Linked DNA regions of Homo sapiens: regions 1 and 2 are each linked to region 3. Evidence: promoter capture Hi-C in human tissues and cell types (Jung and others, 2019). All regions are on one chromosome and are shown on one strand. Each heading gives the region's core, a stretch centred on a gene start or on the middle of the fragment in contact. The rest is flanking DNA. Distances are from core to core; before and after follow the strand shown. Region 1 overlaps SBDS (SBDS ribosome maturation factor). Region 2 has its middle 28 kb from the start of TPST1. Region 3 holds the start of KCTD7 (potassium channel tetramerization domain containing 7).

Region 1 (4,963 bases), core at 261-2,760, 360 kb after region 3:
AGGGTCAAGTGATTCTCCTGCCTCAGCCTCCCGAGTAGCTGGGACTACAGACACGTGCCACCACTCCCGGCTAATTTTTTGTATTTTTAGTAGAGACGGGGTTTCACCGTGTTAGCCAGGATGGTCTCCATCTCCTGACATCGTGATCCGGCAGCCTTGGCCTCCCCAAGTGTTGAGATTACAGGTGTAAGCCAGTATCTGATAGTTTTATGTTTACATTTAGTTCTGATATAAAATATATTTTTTTTGAGATGGAGTTTTGCTCTTGTCACCCAGGCTGGAGTGTAGTGGCAGAATCTTGGCTCACTGCAACCTCTGCCTCCTAGGTTCAAGAGATTCTCTAGCCTCAGCCTCTTGAGCAGCTGGGATTACAGGCGGCCGCCACCATGCCCAGCTAATTTCTTTTTTTTTTTGAGTCAGCGTCTCGCTCTGTCACCCAGGCTGGAGTGCAGTGGCTCACTGCAACCTCTGCCTACCAGGTTCAAGTGATTCTCCTGCCTCAGCCTCCTGAGTAGCTGGGACTAGAGGCATGCGCCACCGTGCCCAGCTAATTTTTGTATTTTTAGTAGAGACAGGGTTTCAGCATGTTGGCCAGGATGGTCTCGATCTCTTGACCTCGTGATCTGCCTGCCTTGGCCTCCCAAAGTCTTGGTATTACAGGCGTGAGCAACCACAGCCAGCTAATTTTTGTATTTTTAATAGAGACTGGGTTTCGTCATTTTGGCCAGGCTGGTCTTGAACTCCTGACCTCAGGTGATCTGCCCACCTGGGCCTCCCAAAGTGCTGGGATTACAGGCATGAGCCACTGTGCCTGGTCCACGTGTTTATTATTTCAGACATTTACTCCACATCTGCTAGGTCCAAAGCATGGTGGGATATACACACACATTGCTAAGTCCCTTGCCCTTAAGGAGCTCACAGTCTAGCCTGAAGGCAGATAATTAAGCAGCTCTAATACAAGTTTGAATAAATCCAGACCCATGAAGGAATTTAAGTAGAGTACTGGCTTCCAGCAACTGGAGCAAATACTTGTGTATGGGGTACAAGGGAAGCTTCAGAGAAAAGAACTGTGGTAAAAGAAGAGGCCTAAGTCTGAAATGTCATTGTGACCAAATGCACACACCATCAGCTTGCATTGAAAAAGTCAAACCAATCCTTAAAATAATCCATTATGGCTGTGGTACTGGGAAGATGATCATGAACCAAAAAATGTTAAGTTCTTTGATAATGAAATTAGTATAAAATTAAAAAAATAAGTTTAGATGATGACTCAGATGTGATCCACATTTGACATTTCTTGAAGTTCCAGCTTTTTAGAAAAAATGAATATTCAGAATCAGAAAATCTTTGTTTTGAGATGGGGTCTGGCTCTGTTGTCCAGGCTGGAGTGCAGTGGGGTGATTTTAGCTCACTGCAACCTCCGCCTCCCGGGCTCAAGTGATCCTCCTGCCTCAGCCTCCCAAGTAGTTGGGAAAACAGGTGCACACCACCATGCCTAATTTTTTGTATTTTTGTAGAGACGGGGTTTCACTGTGTTGCCCAGGCTGGTCTCAAACTCCCAAGCTCAAGTGATTCACCCGCCTTGGCCTCCCAAAGTGCTGGGATTACCGGTGGGAGCCACTGCGCCTGGCCCCAGAAAATCTTAAGGAAATGTTCTATTAAATGTTTATATTTTTTTACTAAGATAGAACTATTGATATATTGAACAAATAGCTGTATCAAAACAGCAGCCTAGCTTTAGCATTAACAGAAAAAGTGTTCATTCCCATGTTATCAATGTATTTTGTTAACAATATAAGAAAAAATTTTGACTTTATAACCTCAATGTTAGTTATTTTAAACTAAAGGGACATTTCTGAGAGCTTGTATTAGCAGGGAGTTGTGTGTGCTTATAAACCAATCAGTACCTTTTCAAGTCAAGAAGCCTGTCTTCAGTTAAAAACTGCTGTCCAGAAATACATCTGTATGTTTATTTTGAGTGAATTTAATTTATATTCTAGAATGTATCTTTTGAAATAGATTTTTTTTCTTTTTTTTGGAGACCGAGTTTCACTCTGTCACCTAGACTGGAGTGCAGTGGCACATTCTCAGCTCATTGCAACCTCTGCCTCCTGGGTTCAAGTGATTCTCCTGCTTCAGCCTCCCGAGTAGCTGGGACTACAGGCGTGCACCACCATGCCTGGCTAATTTTTGTATTTTTAGTAGAGACAGGGTTTCACCATGTGGGTCAGGCTGGTCTCAAACTCCTGACCTCAGGTGATCCGCCTGCCTCGGCCTCCCAAAGTGTTGGGATTGCAGGTGTGAGTCACCTCCCCTGGCCTTGAAGTAGATTTTTAAAAGCTTGCATCTTGTCCATTTAAGTGTTTAAATACTAAAATAATTCTTCCCAATTACATCCCAAGTGTTAGCAAAAATTTTTCAGGTGTTTACAAGTACAGGCCCTGTTCTAAGCACTCTTCATATGGACTTATTCAGTTCTCCTGACAACTCCCTAACCCTACCACAGACACAGGCAGAGAAAAGAAAGGGAGTTAGGAAGTTGTCTAGAAACACAAGCCATAGTTTAATAAACATAAGAGTGGTTTTATTGATTACATACAATTTTAGCTATATTAATATATATTATAAACTTTAAGAATTAGAAATAAGTGACTTTTATTTTTTAACCAAGAATAATCTAAGTTATGGCAGCATGTTCAATGAAAGGTAAGTCCGGCACAATTTTTCTATATCTGTTTCTCAGATAATCAGGAACATCATCCAAGCTTTACATTACGATACCATAATGACCCTCAGAACACAAGTTCCATTAAGTAGAAATGAAGCATCATATGTTTTCTTTTTTAGGAAAGACCCCCCCTTTTGTTGTATAGACATACCCCTAATAATCTTACTCTACTGTACAAATAACTTTTCACCCACAAGAGCTGCCTCAAGTAACTTTCATTTTGGAAAGCTATCAAGGCATGAGACAGAGTAGCAAAATGCCACTCTGGACTTTGCATCTTGGAGTTTCAATTTTGCTTTAGGATTTAGACCCCAGTTTATAATTAAAACCAAATCATTCCCACATTATTATACTTATGTAGGAAAGCCTTGCTGTGTCCACTGTTAACACAAAGATAGAAAATGTCAAATAGTTTAAGCAAGTATTTGGCAGACCACAGACATGAAACAGTGCCGTCGGAAACGGAAACACTTTAGTGTTTTAGAGGTGAAGAGATTGATGGGTGTCATTCAAATTTCTCATCTCCTTCTTCTACATCTTTCAGATTGAGTACTTCCAAAGAACCTTTGCCTTTAGTTTCCTTTTTTATTAGCTCATCAATTTCTCGGAAGCAGCCCGGGTCAATCAGACATACCTGAAACATTTAACGTAGCAGATTACCACATGAGGATGAGCAAGACACAGAATAAACTCAGCTTTAACTTCCTTTGAGGCAAGCACAATGCTGTCCAGATCTCTAATAATACCACAGTTCTATGGTGCAATAGATAAGACAATGGGTAGGGCGGCACACTGGGTTCCAGTTTAGCCTCTGCCCTCAAGTGTCCATGTAGCCCCCTGTGACAAGGCATTAATCCCTATGTTTAAACACTTATTCTGATTCTTCAGCTGTAAATGGAAGGGACAAACTAGAAAACTCTGATTCTTCTCATACTAAAATTTAGCATTACATTTTATAGCTCAGTAAAGTCACCTCCACGTATGAAGGAGAAAAAGCAATGTGAAGACTTATGTAGACACCATGTGTATGTTAATTTATTTTTTTTTGAGATAGAGTGCAGTGGTGTGATCTTGGCTCACTGCAGCCTCCGCCTCCCAGGTTCAAGTGATTCTCCTGCCTCAGCCTCCCAAGAAACTGGGATTACAGGAACCCACCACCACACCTGGCTTATTTTTTGTATTTTTAGTAGAGATAGGGTTTCACCATGTTATCTGCTCACCTTGGCCTCCCAAAGTGCTGGGATTACAGGCACGAGCCACTGTGCCTGGCCCATGTGTACAGTTTTGCAAAGATTTTAGAACTTCAAGTAGTGTCAGATGAGTTAGTTCACATCTACAGTGGATACTCACATACTCAACACTTCTCTACAGCTCATTTACTTTTAAAAAGAAGCTGCAGACAGGGCGCGGTGGCTCAAGCCTGTAATCCCAGCACTTTGGGAGGCCGAGGCGGGTGGATCACCTGAGGTCGGGAGTTCGAGACCAGCCTGACCAACATGGAGAGACCCCGTCTCTACTAAAAATACAAAATTAGCTGGGCGAGGTGGCACATGCCTGTAATCCCAGCTACTCGGGAGGCTGAGGCAGGAGAATCGCTTGAACCCGGGAGGCAGAGGTTGCAGTGAGCTGAGATCACGCCATTGCACTCTAGCTTGGGCAATAAGAGTGAAACCCTGTCTCAAAAATAAATAAATAAATAAATAAATAAATAAGCTGCAAAGCCTTGAAAACATGAATTTGTAGACAGCTCAATTTACACTGTGTTTGAAGCTGTGGGGTGAGGTCATAAGGACATAATGGTTTCGCTGCTTCTTTAAAATGTTCTGTGTTTAGTGTCACCAGGTTCACACACTAATATCCTCTGGAAACACCCTCACAGACATACCCCAAACAATGCTTTATCAGGCTTCTAGGGATTCCTTTCCAGTCAAGTTGACACCTAAAATTACATCCACAATTCCACCCCTTATCAACTTGGCACCCAGACTCATCTCTTTAAACCATTTTTAATTTTCAAATGAAGACAATAACAAGGTCCTAGCTTTTCCTCACATGATGCAATTAACCAGACGCGACTATCCTGCATACAACTCAAAGAGTGCTAATCCTTTTGCCAGAATTCAGCTTTCAGAATTTCATCATTCAGAATTCAATCTTTTTTTTTTTTTTTTGAGATGGAGTTTCGCTCTTGTTGCCCAGGCTGGAGTGCAATGGTGCAATCTTGGCTCACCGCAA
Region 2 (4,445 bases), core at 51-2,550, 450 kb before region 3:
TGTTAACAAATTCCCTGGATATCTCATTAAAATGCGCATGTGGGCCGGGCACACTGGCTCACAGCTGTAATCCCAGCACTTTGGGAGGCCTAGGCGGGTGGATCACGAGGTCAGGAGATTGAGACCATCTTGGCCAACATGGTGAAAACCCGTCTCTACTAAAATACAAAAAATTAGCCGGGCGTGGTGGCACGTGCCTGTAATCCCAGCTACTTGGGAGGCTGAGGCAGGGGAACTGCTTGAACCTGAGAGGCAGAGGTTGCAGTGAGCTGATAGCACGCCACTGCACTCCAGCCTGGTGACAGAGCAAGACTCCGTCTCAAAAAAAAAAAAAAAAAAAAAGCGAATGTGGATTCAGCAGGACTGGAGTGATATTGACATTAAGTGGTTCTAACAAGCCCCCAGGTGCTGCTGACCCACGTGGATCGCACTTCATTTTATTTCACTTTTTTGAGACAGGGTCTTACTCTTGCCCAGGCTGGAGTGCAGTGGTGCAATCACGGCTCACTGAAACCTCTGCTTCCTAGGCTCAAATAATCCTTCCCCCTCAGCTTCCCGAGTAGCTGGGACTAACGGCGTTTGCCACCACACCCAGCTAATTTTTGTATTTTTTTCTTTTCTTTTTTTTTTTTTGAGACAGAGTCTCGTTCTGTCACCCAGGCTGGAGTGCAGTGGCGCAATCCTGGCTCACTGCAAGCTCCGTCTCCCGGGTTCACGCCATTCTCCTGCCTCAGCCTCCCGAGTAGCTGGGACTACAGGCGCCCACCACCACACCCAGCTAATTTTTTGCATTTTTAGTAGAGACGGGGTTTCACCATGTTAGCCAGGATGGTCTCGATCTCCTGACCTTGTGATCCACCCGCCTCAGCCTCCCAAAGTGCTGGGATTACAGGCGTGAACCACCGTGCCCGGCCAATTTTTGTATTTTTTGTAGAGATGGGGGTCTCGCCATGTTGCCCAGGCTGGTCTCAAACTCCTGGGTTCAAGTTATCTGCCCGTTTTGGCCTCCCCAGTGCTGGGATTACAGTTGTGAGCCACTGCACCTGGCCTAAAGTCAGTCTAGATAATACCTACAATTTATTCTGGATTATACCTTTCTTCCCTAACTTAGTTTTGCCTCCTGTATCAGTTAAGTTTCCTAGTTACAAACATCAGCACATACTCTAGTTAGCACAGAAAAGGCACTTTTCAAAAAAAATTTATTTATTTATTTATTTATTTGAGATGGAGTCTCACTCGGTAGCCCAAGCTGGAGTGCCATGGTGTGATCTTGGCTCACTGCAACCTCTGCCTCCGGGGCTCAAGTGATTCTCCTGCCTCAGCCTCCCAAGTAGGCAGGGATTACAGGCACCTGCCACAATGCCTGGCTAATTTTTTGTATTTTAGTAGAGACGGGGTTTCACCATGTTGCCCAGGGTGGTCTCGAATTCCTTAGCTCAGGTGATCTGCCCACCTTGGCCTCCCAAAGTGCTGGGATTACAGGTATTTATTTATTTGAGACAGGGTCTCTACCACCTAGGCTGGCTGGCATGCAGTGGTGCAATCATAGCCCATGGCAGCCTCAGACTCCTGGGCTCAAGCCATCCTGCTGCTTCCGCCTCCAGAGTAGCTGTGACTATAGGCACACACCACCACACCCACCTATTCTCTTCCATTTTTTGTAGAAAGAGGATCTCGCTATGTTGCCCAGGCTGGTCTCAAACTCCTGGCCTCAAGCACTTCTCCTGCCTCAGCCTCCCAAAGTGCTGTGATTACAGGCATGAGCCACCACACCCAGCCGAAAAAGCATTTATTATCAGGCACTGGGGAACTCTCAGAACCACTAGGGCCCTGGGCTCCCAGGAACAGTGCCCAGACCACGTTGCAAAACTGAAATGATGAGAGAACCAGCCTTCCAAGTGCAGGACACTGAGCCAATGTGCACTGATGCCAGGGACAGAAACCACTGCATCCACCACTGTCACCAGCACCAATGCCACATGTGTATCTGGAACTCAACCTCACAGCTATTGCCAGCCCCCAGAGCTGGACATTGCTGTGGTCATCCTCACCAGCAGATGGATGGACTCCACATAGAGCCTGCTTTTTCATGTTGTTTATTTAATTAATTCTTTTTTTTTTTTTTTTTGAGACAGAGTCTCACTGTGTTGCCAGATTGGAGTGCAGAGGCACAATCTTGCCTCACTACAACCTCCGCCTTCCAGGTTCAAGCAATTCTCCTGCCTCAGCCTCCCAGGTAGCTGGGACTACAGACAGGCATGTGCCACAATGCCCAGCTAATTTTTGTACTTTTAGTAGAGAAAGGGTTTCACCATGTTGGCCAGGATGGTCTTGATCTCTTGACCTCATGATCTGCCCGCTTCGGACTCCCAAAGTGCTGGGATTACAGGCGTGAGCCACCGTGCCTGGCCTCTTTTTTTTTTTTTTTTTCTGAGACGGAGTCTCGCTCTGTTGCCCAGGCTGAAGTGCAGTGGCGCAATCTGGGCTCACTGCAAGCTCTGTCTCCCGGGTTCATGCCATTCTCCTGCCTCAGCCTCCTGAGTAACTGGGACTACAGGCATCCACCACCACACCCAGCTAATTTTTTCTATTTTTAGTAGAGACGGAGTTTCACCGTGTTAGCCAGGATGGTCTTGATCTCCTGACCTCGTGATCCACCTGCCTTGGCCTCCCAAAGTGCTGGGATTACAGGCGTGAGCCACTGTGGCTGGCCATTTTTTTTTTTTTTTAAGAGACCAGGGTCTGGGACTGGGTGTGGTGGCTGAGGCCTGTAATCCCAGCACTTTAAGAGGCCAAGACGGGTGGATCACGAGATCAGGAGATCAAGATCATCCTGGTTAACATGGTGAAACCCCGTCTCTACTAAAAATACAAAAAATTGGCCGGGCGTGGTGGTGGGTGCCTGTAGTCCCAGCTACTTGGGAGGCTGAGGCAGGAGAATGGCATGAACCCGGGAGACGGAGCTTGCAGTAGGCCAAGATCACACCACTGCACTTCAGCCTGGGAGACAGAGCAAGACCCCATCTCAAAAAAAAAAAAAAAAAAGAGACCAGGGTCTTACTGTGTTGCCCAGGCTAGGGTGCAGTAGCATGATCATAGCTCACTGCAGCCTTGAACTTCTGGGCTCCAGCGATCCTCTCACCTATGCTTCCCAAAGTGATGGGATTACAGGTTGCACCACCATGCCTGGCTCATGTTTATTTCTAAAGTATCACAACAGTATGTTGGATTAGTGGAGCCTCAGTCACATGACCTAGCCTAAGTCACATGACCATTCCTTAGCTGCAAGGGAGGCTGGAGAATCATGCTTCCTGGCTTCTAACTTGGGGGATGGGGTAGTGGCAAGACTCATAAGGCAGAAAATTCTTCAAAATAGCTCACAAGACCGGGCACAGTGGCTCATGCCTGTAATCCCAGCACTTTGGGATGCTGAGGCAGGTGGATCACCTGAGGTCAGGAGTTTGAGACTAGCCTGGCCAACATGGTGAAATCCTGTCTCTACTAAAAATACAGAAATTAGCCAGGCGTGGTGACGCACGCCTGTAATCCCAGCTACTGGGAAGTCTGAGGCAGGAGAATCACTGGAAGCTGGGGAGTAAAGATTGCAGTGAGTCAAGATCGTGCCACTTCACTCTAGCCTGGGTGAAAAAGCAAAACTCCGTCTCAAAAAAAAAAAAAAAAAGAAATACATTCTGTAAGGCTGTGGCTACCATAGCTAGTGATTCCTTTTCTCAAATGGGCACAGTGACTCACGCCTGTAATCGCAGCACTTTGTGGGGTGGAGACGAGCAGATCACCTGAGGTCAGGAGTTCGAGACCAGCCTGGCCAACATGGAGAAACCCCATCTCTACAAAAAATACAAAAATTAGCTGGGTGTGTTGGCACATGCCTGTAATCCCAGCTACTTGGGAGGCTGAGGCAGGGAGAATTGCTTGAACCCGGGAGGCAGAGGTTGCAGTGAGCTGAGATCATGCCACTGCACTCCAGCCTAGGTGACAGAGTGAGACTGTCTGAAAAAAAAAAAAAGTCAGCTCACAAACATGACAAATATCCACAACACAGTTATAAACATAATGACTGGGCATGGTGCTTTACGCCTGTAATCCCAGCACTTTGGAGGCCAAGATGGGTGGATTGCTTGAGCCCAGGAGTTCGAGACCAGCCTGGATGACATAGCAAGAACCCCGTCTCTAAAAAAATAAAAATTAAAATAAAAAAAGCAAAAAATAGCCAGGTGTGGAGGCATATACCTGTAGTCCCAGCTATTTGGGAGGCTGAAGTGGGAGAATTGATTGGGCCTGAGAGGTTGAGGCTGTAGTGAGCCAAGATGGTGCCACTGCACTCCAGGGTGACACAGAGACCCGGTCTCAAAAACAAACAAACAAAAGAATAGACAAAATAACCACTGAGAAATCTGTGAAGAATAAGAGTGAGTAGGCCGGGT
Region 3 (4,882 bases), core at 830-3,329:
GCAATCACAGCTCACTGCAGCTTCGACCTCCCTGGCTCGCATGATCCTCCTTGCTTTACCCTCCTAGTAGCTGGGACTACAGATGTGAGCCACCACACTCAGCTATATATATATTTTATTTTTTGTAGAGGCAGGGTCTAACTACGTTGTCCAGGCTGGTCTTGACCTCCTGGGCTCAAGGTATCCTCCCGCCTTGGCTTCCCAAAGTGTCTTCCAGCTATTTTGAAATATACAATCCATTGTTGTTAATTATAGTCACTACTCTGCTTTTGAACCATAGAACATAAACCTTTTTATCTAACTGTATGTCCTTCATTAACCTAAATCTCTTCATTTCTCACCCAACCGTTCCCAGCCTCTGGTTTCTTTCTACTCTCTAAATTTATGAGATCGATTTGTTTTAGCTGCCACAGATAAGAACATGCAATATTTATGTCTTTCTGTGCCTGGCTTATTTCACTTAACATAATGACGTCCATCCACGTTGCTGCAGATGACGTGATTTCATTCCTTTTCATCTGTGTTTAAACAAGGTCTCCCTCCAGGGATTTTGATGCAACTGAAGTTGGAGAAAACACAGACCTAGGACACTCCTGCAGCTGGGAGTGCGATGGTCTAACAGAGGAAGTGCTATGCCACCAGCTCATCTTTGCCATCCTGGAGCTGTCTAATCTACGACTCAGTTTTCTTTTCTGTCACTACACTGTGAGAATGAGATGAGGAACTGGGTGTGAAAACGGTTTGAAAAGGAGAAGCATGGTTGCACACGCCTGCGATCCCAGCACTTTGGGAGGCTGACGAGGGAGGACAGCTTGAGGCAAGGAGTTTGAGACCAGCCTGGGCAACATGACAAGACCCCATTTCTTAAAAAAAAAAAAAAAAAAAAATTTTTTTTTCTTTTTTGAGACGGAGTTTCGCTCTTGTTGCCCAGGTTGGAGTATAGTGGCCGTGATCTCGCCTCACTGCAATCTCCATCTCCTGGGTTCAAGCGATTCTCCTGCCTCAGCCTCCCTAGTAGCTGGGATTGCAGGTGTGCCACCATGCCTGGCTAATTTTGTATTTTTAGTAGAGATGAGGTTTCACCATGTTGGCCAGGCTGGTCTCAACTTCCTGACCTCAGGTGATCCACCCGCATCGCTTACCAAAGAGCCAGGATTACAGGCGTGAGCCACTGCGCCCGGCCAAAATTTTAAAAAATCAGCTGAGTGTGGTGGTGCGCGTCTGTGGTCCCAGCTACTCGGGAGGCTGGGGCGGGAGGATTGCTTGAGCCCAGGGGTTGCAATGAGCTATGATTGCGCCACTGCACTTCAGCCTGGGTAACAGAGTGAGACTTTGTCTTTTAAAGAAAGGAGAAAATGGCTTGAACGGGCTAAGAACCTTGACCCCCAGGAGACTCCCTGCGCTGATAGAGCCTCTAGGGCTGGACTCCGCCTCCCAGGGAGCCGGGAGCATCTTGGGGAAGGGCCTGTCTCCATCTGTGTGTCCCGGTGGAAAAACGGTCACGGTGGGGAGTCACTGTCATTATTCATTGAACTCAAGCGCTCCTATTTTGGGTTTTCTCGTTCGGATTTCTGCGCGAGCGAGTGAGGAAGAACTGGACACCCGGGCGGTGCCCTGCGGCTCGGGGCGGGGCCAGCCGCGGTGGCGTGTCCGCAGCCACCTCAGCCCTCCTCCCGCCACATCCTCCAGGAAAGGCTGCTCAGGCCTTCCATTGAGGAGACAAGGACCCGCTGCTCTGGGGCCAGACACACGAGTAAGTCGTGACCCCCTGTGTGAAGGGATAAGGCGTCTACCCTGACGCGGGTGAGAACCCTCTTCACGGCAGACTCCGACGCCCAGTTATGAGAGCGTAGCGGCGCACCACCGCCGGGTCTCTCGGAGAGGGCGCGCCCGCTGGCCAGAGGACCAATCAGTGCACGGCAGGCTCGCAGGCCGCCCCCCCCCCCCCCCCCCAACCCAGGGACCACTCAGGCGCCGGCCGCTGGCGCTGCCTGCTCTTCGACTGGGCGAGCTTCCTGCCAATCAGGGCGGAACCAGCGCGGCGTCGGCCAGTAGCGGGAGGCGGTCGGGTCAGGCCCCAGCTGGGCGCGAGCGGGTCGGCGTTGAGGGAGCCACCGCCCTCCCGCCTGCGCACTGCCTCTCGCCCCCCTCCGGCCAGCCCGCAGCCGGCCGCGTCATGCCAGGCGCTGCTCGGCGGTAGGGAGTGCCCGGGGCCGCCGCCTCCGCCCGCCCGAAGCCGCGCCCACTGCCCAGAGCCAGAGGGATGGTGGTAGTCACGGGGCGGGAGCCAGACAGCCGTCGTCAGGACGGTGCCATGTCCAGCTCTGACGCCGAAGACGACTTTCTGGAGCCGGCCACGCCGACGGCCACGCAGGCGGGGCACGCGCTGCCCCTGCTGCCACAGGAGGTACCCGGGCGGGCGGCGGGCCGCGGGGCGTGGGGAGGGGCGCGGGGGAGAAGCGGGCGCGGGGCATAGCGGTCCTCGGCGGGTGGGCGGGGCCGGGGTTGGGGGCGGGGCCCGCGGACTTGCGCCCCTCCCCCGCCCACCTGCAACTCCCCCGCCCACCTGCACCCCTACCCACCCACCTTCAACCCCTGTCAATTACACCCACTAGGTGTGCTTCCCCACCCCCTACACCCTCCGCCCAGTAGTCACTGGGGTGATTTACTCCCATCGCCATGTCCCACTTTTACCGAAGACAGGAGGGAGGGTGGGCCGTGGGAGGGGGACCCTGGAGCCCCGAGAGCTGATGGTGTGTCTGACCAGGCACCGTAGCTCGAGCCTGTAATCCCAACACATTGGGAGGGAGGATCGCTTGAGGGCAGGAGTTGGAGGCCAGCCTGGGCAACATAGCGAGGCCCCGTCCCTACTACGACTGGAAAAACAAAGGCATTTTGGGTTGGATGAATAAAAAAAAGAAAAGAAAAAGATGTCTTCTAGAGAATCCAACAGGATGCTGTAGTGGTTGCCCACACCTAGTCTCCAGCTACCTAAGGAACAAGGCAAGGAGCTGTCTGCACATAAGGGGCAGGCCAGTTCATAGATGTAGGCACGGTCACCTGGCATCCCATGGCTTTCACTCACAGGCTGCTGTGCTCTGGTGCACAGGGGCTTCCACGGGTCTTACTTAATGTGTGTGATACTATCATGTCAACACCTGAAATGACACTCAAGAGACGGGAGAAGATACCAGGCATGGTGGCTCACATCTGTAATCTCAGCAGTTTGGGATGCTGAGGTGGGAGGATTGCTTGATCCCAGCAGTTAGAGACTAGTCAGGGCAACAGTGAGACCCTGCCTCTACAAAAATGAAAATTAGCCAGGCTTGGTGGTGTGTGCCTGTAGTCCCAGGTGCTCAGGAAGGTGAGTTGGGAGGATTGCTTGAGCCCTGGAGGTTGAGGCTGCAGTGAGCTGTAATTGTGCCACTGTACTCCAGCCTGGGTGTGATAGAGTAAGACCGTACCTACAAACAAACAAAAACAAAAAAAGCAAGAGAAGGGAAACGATGCCAGGTGTGGTGGCTTACACTTGTAATCCCAGCACTTTGGGAGGTCAAGGCAGGAGGATGGTTTGAGGCCAGGAGTCTGGGACCAGCTTGGGCAACACAGACTCCATCTCTACAAATAAAAAATAAAGAGGAGGGAAGGTGAAGCATTACTGGACACCGAAGATGGCTTCTAGGAGGCAGGGACTAAGGTAGTGCCAGATCCAGGAGCATGTGGTATGCGGAGTCCCAGGACAATGGAGGCCCTCAACAATTGAGGCCCTCAACAGGCTGGGCTAGGTGATGCTCTTGGGAAGCAGATAGTGTTGTGCTGGGATTGCAAGCCCCATACACACAATGCCATGGGAAAATGAGCAAAAATCTAGAAGTAATCTCTGCAATTGGAAAAAAGTCATTAGTCACAGTGGTGCTATTTTTTTGTGCACTGTCATTGGGAAAATGATATGGTTTGAGGGAAAGAGCACAAGACCACAGATTGCAGACCAGGGCCCCACCACCAGTTCCCCCCACTGATGACATTGCCCCATGTGAGCTCCAAAACTGTTTCCGATGGCTTTTGTCCTCTCTGCTTCAATCCTCTCATCTCTAATATGGAGCAAGCACTTGGATTGGTATGAAGTATCTTTAGAAAAGGTTTAAAGAGCTCCAGAAATGTTAAGTATTATTATTCCAAAATGATATCTGAGCCCTTGATATACACATAAAATGGTTTTAGAGGACCTACAGAATAAGCGCAAGGCATTTTCATGTCCTGTGGGTGCAGAAGAGTAACAGTGCATACACACACGGAAGTGTAACTACCTGTCTATTTCTTTCATTCATTCGGTGAATTTTGGGTCTTTATTTGAGCCAGGCGCTGCACAAGGCCCTGGGTCAGCTTTATTTAATGTATTTGTACCCTATTTTATTTCACAAAGGATTTGAAAGCTGGGAAAGGTACTGTGTAGATAAGCAGACTTTCACTGGAGCAGGAGAGATGTAATATTGAAAAGGATGCATGGCTATAATCCCAGCACTTTGGGAGGCCAAGGCAGGAAGATCACTTGAGGTTAGGACTTTGAGACCAGCTTGGCCAACATGGTGAAACCCCATCTCTACTAAAAATACAAAAATTAGTTGGGTGTGGCCATGCCCACCTGTAGTCCCAGCTACTTTGGAGGCTGGGGCAGCAGAATCTCTTGAACCCGGGAGGCAGAGGTTGCAGTGAACCGAGATCGTGCCATTGCACTCCAGCCTGGGTGTTGCAATGAGATTCCGTCTCAAAAAAAAAAAAAAAAGATGCATAGGGATACAATTTGAATTGATCTGGAGGAAGTTTGTGGGAAGATTAAAGAGAACTTAAACTGACCTCATTTTTTCAAATGCAGTTTGGTAGA

What was found. The method cuts DNA at HindIII sites, captures the fragments that hold promoters and counts their contacts. A contact is called where the count stands out against the background at its distance.
Region 1: a fragment that was not itself captured here is called in contact with the fragment with the promoter of KCTD7 in region 3 in 2 of the 25 tissues and cell types used here (aorta and dorsolateral prefrontal cortex).
Region 2: a fragment that was not itself captured here is called in contact with the fragment with the promoter of KCTD7 in region 3 in 1 of the 25 tissues and cell types used here (IMR-90 fibroblasts).

What each region holds. Positions count from the first base shown.
Region 1 is chr7:66,985,138-66,990,100 of GRCh38, forward strand. SBDS (SBDS ribosome maturation factor) reads right to left here. Exons shown (of 5, transcript NM_016038.4): 5 at 2,543-3,362. The coding sequence ends at 3,234. Among named protein-coding and RNA genes, the nearest start is that of SBDS, 8.0 kb to the right of the region's middle. The HindIII fragment of the contact is 6,084 bases long and covers 1-4,552 here.
Region 2 is chr7:66,175,183-66,179,627 of GRCh38, forward strand. No RefSeq gene overlaps it. Among named protein-coding and RNA genes, the nearest start is that of TPST1, 28 kb to the right of the region's middle. RefSeq lists a silencer at 2,757-2,920. The HindIII fragment of the contact is 7,445 bases long and covers 1-4,445 here.
Region 3 is chr7:66,626,802-66,631,683 of GRCh38, forward strand. It overlaps KCTD7 (potassium channel tetramerization domain containing 7), which reads left to right and starts at 2,080. Exons shown (of 4, transcript NM_153033.5): 1 at 2,080-2,407. The coding sequence starts at 2,264. RefSeq lists silencers at 661-860, 1,871-2,440. The HindIII fragment of the contact is 13,354 bases long and covers 1-4,882 here.